Linked DNA regions of Homo sapiens: region 1 is linked to region 2. The links are contacts of gene promoters, found by promoter capture Hi-C in blood cells and fetal thymus (Javierre and others, 2016). All regions are on one chromosome and are shown on one strand. Each heading gives the region's core, a stretch centred on a gene start or on the middle of the fragment in contact. The rest is flanking DNA. Distances are from core to core; before and after follow the strand shown. Region 1 overlaps PTH1R (parathyroid hormone 1 receptor). Region 2 holds the start of RTP3 (receptor transporter protein 3).

What was found. Contacts are between HindIII fragments. The CHiCAGO score rates a contact against its expected background, and 5 or more counts as called.
Region 1: a contact is called between a fragment that was not itself captured here and the fragment with the promoter of RTP3 in region 2, in 2 of 17 cell types (M0 macrophages and M1 macrophages). The highest score is 7.8, in M0 macrophages.

The regions. Positions count from the first base shown.
Region 1 is chr3:46,886,866-46,889,565 of GRCh38, forward strand. The region is part of intron 3 of PTH1R (parathyroid hormone 1 receptor); the gene reads left to right. Among named protein-coding and RNA genes, the nearest start is that of PTH1R, 10 kb to the left of the region's middle. RefSeq lists enhancers at 1,020-1,777, 1,778-2,535. The HindIII fragment of the contact is 250 bases long and covers 1,176-1,425 here.
Region 2 is chr3:46,496,554-46,499,253 of GRCh38, forward strand. RTP3 (receptor transporter protein 3) reads left to right here and starts at 1,423. Exons shown (of 2, transcript NM_031440.2): 1 at 1,423-1,664. The coding sequence starts at 1,510. The HindIII fragment of the contact is 6,166 bases long and covers 1-2,700 here.

The sequences.
Region 1 (2,700 bases), core at 51-2,550, 390 kb after region 2:
TCCTCAAAAGCAGCACGAGATTTGCTGCTGGCAGGAGATCCTCATGTCTCACTCTGGGTTTTCTCTTTCTTTTTTCTTTTTTAAAAATTAAATCATGGCCGAGTGCAGTGGCTCACACCTGTAATCCTAACACTTTGGGAGGCCGGGCAGATCACCTGAGGCCAGGAGTTCGAGACCAGCCTGGCCAACATGGTGAAACCCCCATCTCTACTAAGAATACAAAAATTAGCCACGCGTGGTGGTACGTGCCTGTAATCCCAGCTTATTGGAAGGCTGAGGCAGGAGAATCGCTTGAACCCAGGAGGCAGAGGTTGCAGTGAACCGAGATCACGCTGCTGCACTCCACCCTGGGCGACAGAGGCTCTGTAAAAAAGAAAAAAAAAATTAAATCCTTCTGTTATTTTGTTAATTTTTAACTTCACAACTGATATATGAATATGTTCTTATAAAAGAGTCAAACAAGTCTGTAATCCCAGATACTTGAGAGGCTGAGGAGGGAGAATTGCTTGAGCCCAGAAGTTCAAGGCTGCAATGAGCTACGATCATGCCACTTCACTCCAGCCTGGGTGACAGAGTGAGCCCCTGTCTCTGAAAAAAAAAAAAAAAAAAAAAGAGAGAGAGTCAATCAATAAAAATTAAACAGAAGCCCTCCTTGATCACTCCCAAGCCCCAGTTCCCTTCTAGGGAAAACCATTTTTAGCAGTTTGGGTAGAGGGGCGTTCTCCTTCCTCTTTCTGTGTGTTTCCAAATGGTACCTCTTTGTGTACATATCAAGTAGATAATTTTGTCATTTTCTATTTGTCTGGTTGTTTTTAAATAAATGGCATCGGTTTCTAGATAGGGCTCTGCCACATACATATTTTGACGTAAATGTGTGTCTTAGAGATCTTCATTTCAGTAAATATGAATCTATATTTTTAAATGCTGCATAGTATTCCAAAACCTGGGACTCATTAAGTAGTCCATAGGAATGTACATTTAGATCATTTCTGCATAATTTGTGTGTGTGTCTATATGTGCGTGATTCCAGATGGTGGCAGGGAAGCTCCTTGAAATGCCCTCTAGTGTCCCCATGTGACTATTTCCTAGTAGGATATTTCTAGATTTTGTCATTGCTGGGCCTGAGAATATACATATTTTTTATTTTAATAGCATGGCCAAATTGCCCTCTAAAAAGCTTGTGCTGCTTTGTACTTATACAACACCAAGACCAACCAGGAGGGCCTCTCTGCCCACACCCACTGTCTCATAGGATGTTAAGAGGATTCTTTGTGTTTCACCTTTGCTTGGATAGGTGAAAATGGTGTCTCTTGTCATTTTAATTTGCTGATTACCAGTGACTTCTGGGCTTTACAGTGAGAGCTTGCTCGGGGCCATTAACCATCATTCTATGGGTTATTTGTCTTTTTCGTATTGATTTGTTGAAGCTTTTTATATCACCTGCTCTTAAACACATTCACCTCAGCTCTTGAAACGGCTTATGGACAGAGCAGCAGGAGGGTGCCGAGCCCTCCGAGGAACTGGGGTTTTCTTCGGAATGTTTTAATGAGGCGTCAAGTAGCCTCCCTCAGATTCCTGTTGTGGGCCTTCTGGGGACACTCCCTGGTCCAGCCACCACATCAGGAAGGCAGCTATTTCAGAAGGAGAGTCCTCAGGAAAAAGAAAAGGTGGGGCGAGGGTTTTGCAGACCTCTGAAATTGTCTGCAAAATACGGTGTGATTGGGAGAAGGGCGCAAACTTTTGCTCAGGTTTGCAGAAACATCAGAGACCTTCAAACCCTTAAAAGCCCCAACTCTGGGGCCAGTCTTATGCCCGAGGTGAGACCTAGTGGGATCCCATTCTGCTGAGCAGGCGATGGCTTAGATTAGGCCATACTGTTCTTCTGGGCCTTGATTCCTCAACCCAAGTAGGGCCTGCTTATGAAGATCCACCAGGTCGTAGCAGCCAACTCCGCTATCCCAGGCTGCATCCCACTGCCTGCCCCGAAGGCGGCCACGCTGGCTGGCCAGGATGAGAGGCGTCACAGTGCCTCTTCCCCCCCAGCCCCTCCCAGCCCCAAACACAGGCAGCCTGTTCAGGAAAGCCTGGCGAAGGGGAGGAAAAGTCAGCACTTGTCAGCGGTGGCGGGGCAGGACGAGGAGCCTGCTCAGGCCAGCCGGACAGAGAGAGGGCAGCAGGGGTGGGGGAGCAGTCCCAGCCAGCTGGCACGGGAGACATCCAGGGGTGCCAGCATGGGTCCCAGTAGTAGAACCTGGAGGAGGGCTGTAGGAAGGCCAGGAGGTCATGAAGGGGTCTCCTGTTAGCCAGGGTTTTCTCCTTCTGGCTGTGCTGGAGGCATCAACGGCCTGGTTCCCAACACCAGAGCCCAACTGTCCTCTACCCAGTTACAGCTGGGGACAAGCCGCCATCACTGGCATCACCGGCACCTTTATGTCTACACACCTCTGCTCCTAAATCGGCTTCGGGGAGGCTGCCTTAGGGGATCTGCAAAGGGAGACTTGCTTAATGTAGCAGCTAAAATCCAGGATTATGGAAAGATGATACCGTGGCTGGTGCCAGGGTACCCGTGTGGCTGGGCACTTCCTCCTCTCTTTCCCTTCTTCCAAGGCTGCTGCTTCAGTGTCAAGCAGATCTTAGCTCCATCCCTGGCCCTCCTCTTTCTGTGACTCTTGGCCTCAGTGTCCCTGTCTGTAAAATGGG
Region 2 (2,700 bases), core at 173-2,672:
AGTCTTATGATCTCTGTTTTAACCTTGATGCTGGTGAGTTGTCCCTAAAGTCAAAGGGAGGGAGTATGATAAGGTGTTTCCAACCTCCCCTCCTGTCATAGCTGGGAATTTAGTTTTTCAGGTTTCTCAGGGGTCCCCTTGGCCAAAAGCTAGTCCATTCAGTTGGTTTGGGGGCTTAGGAACTTATTTTTAGTTAGCAGTTTAAAATCAATAAAGTGTAACAACTATTTACATAGCATTTACATTGTATTAGGTATTATAAGTAATCTAGAGATCAATTAAAGTATACAGAAGGATGTGCATAGATTATATGCAAATACTATGTCATTTTGTATAAGGGACCTGAGCATCTGAGGATTTTGCTATCTGCAGGGGGCGCTGGAACCAATCCACCTGGAACTGAGGGACAGCTCTAATGCTGAGAAACAAAACTGGCTTGGAAAGAGGGGAGACCCAGGACTTGAGCCTGCCGAGGAGCTAAACCCAAGGGCAAGAGCTGCAGGCAGCTGGGCTGGAGAGGAGGAAGGAGGTGGCTTTGTTTCCAACTGCCCTGGAAGACCTCCTCATCCCCCTGCATCCCCAGCCTCCTTTCCTTTTTCCTTCCTGCTCTGCTCCCTTCCTTCCTCTCCTCCTCTTGGGAGGTGGCCAGGGACATAGGTCAGTGCCTGGCCCCGAGGAAGACACATGCAGTTTGTGGACGGGTCTTGGGATGCGGACACCCAGAGTCTTGTGCACCTTCCTGGAGTGTTGCCCACTCCAGTACCCACTCCCTAATCTCCCCTCTTCCTCCTCAATCCTCTCTTGCAGGAAGCAGAGGATGGAGAACCCCCTCAGGAAGGAGGGCAGTGACTCTGGGTTTGCCTAGGGCTAATGGCCTCTCACCGACCTGTGCCCTTGTACCTGTCGCCTGGGCAAACAGTGATTGCATCAGCTTTGGTTTCTCATGGGTGGGCAGCCTTGGCTGTCTGCCGGAACGTAAAGAGCATGGAGCAAGGACATGGGAATCCGAATCCCGCTGAGGTCCCAGGACCACTTCATCCTTCTTCCCTGTGCCTCTCCTCCCCAGCATGAGCACAGCAGCCTGATGGAGAAGGATTTTCCAATGTTAGAACTGGAAAGAACACCTGTAGCCTGTCTCCACCGTTTACAGTGGTGCTGGAAGTGAAAAGATGTGTTCCAGGTCACAGGCAGGTAGACAGCGGAGCCAGACTGAAATTCACTCCTCCTGATTTGGAGTTTAGAGCTCTTCTTTGGCAACATTTTGATGAATAAAATCACAAGTTCTGTGTCTTTTGAAATTCCTTGTGGAGCCTAGTGCCATCCTCTGAACTTGGAGCCAACTGACCTTTGTCCTTGGGGCAGAGACATGGTTCATGGGCCCAATCCAGGTCCTCAAAGGGAGGGCAGGTCTGAGTCCTTGCCCTCTGAAGTCAGAAACCTCATCTCCCACTACAGACCTGCCAGGGCCCAGGAGAGCTCGACCCACCCAGGCACACCATAGCCCCAGAGATGGCTGGGGACACAGAAGTGTGGAAGCAAATGTTTCAGGAGTTAATGCGGGAGGTGAAGCCATGGCACAGGTGGACCCTGAGACCAGACAAGGGCCTTCTTCCCAACGTCCTGAAGCCAGGCTGGATGCAATACCAGCAGTGGACCTTCGCCAGGTGAGGGGGAATGTGATGGTACACGTTCCAGAAAATTCTTGCACATTTCTTACTAGGTATACCTGTTACTTTTCTTGTTCTATTCTGTGCTTTCAAATTGAAGACTATGGGTAATAAGATGCCCATCATCCAAGAAGTTGTAACTTCATTAAAGATCGTTTTTTCACTATTACAATGAACCCCAAAGCAAGAGCAGGCCTGAGCACCCTTGTGAGCTAATGCCTGGATACAGAGAAATCAGTCTGTGGGGGTGGGGAGAGGGAGCAGCCAGGAAAGGGGAGGGGAGGAAGGGCAGCTGTTGCACCCACGGGCGGTGCATGTGCCCCATGCCTAGGGAGACTGCTGGACCCACCTTGGAGCCCCTAGGAGGAGAGACTCACGGCACTGAGCAGACACCCTCGGGGGAGGCCGGAGGAGCAGGGGGCCTGGGCAACAGGCAGCAATCCTGCCCCTCTCTACTCTGAGCTGATAGAATCTTTTTAAAATAGGAGTCTTAGAAATCATCCTAAGCCTCATCCTCTCTTTCCCAGGTGGAAATGGGGAGCCCCAAGGCTTGGGGCTGATTGCCCACAGTGCACAGAGGGTGGAGGCCGGGTCCCACCCGCTGTCCCCTCCCAGGGAGAGTCTACATAGAGGGGGCAGAGCTCTCCCACTGGCCTATGGCTATCCCAGGCCAGGAGCTGCCATAGGGAGCATTGCACCAAAGTCTCAGTCCATTTATCCATGGGAAGTTTGAACTCTGAACAAGCACAGGAACAGAGCACTGAGACCCAGGGGATGGCAGTGGACTTCTGCTCAGAACAGGGCCCAGGCCCCTCTGCACTGCTGACTCTGGGTGACTCCCAGCAAGGTCCTCTCACAGTGATCACAGCTTCTTGGCCTCTCCCTCTCATTTCAACCTTGCATTCACCCTGTGGGTTGCGGCTAGAGTCAAGATACAGGAGCACACCCTGGACTAACTCCCTCTTCCCAGCCCCCTCCAATTCACCACCTGCAGCCTAATTTCTCTGTATCCAGGCATCGGGGGCTCAGCCAC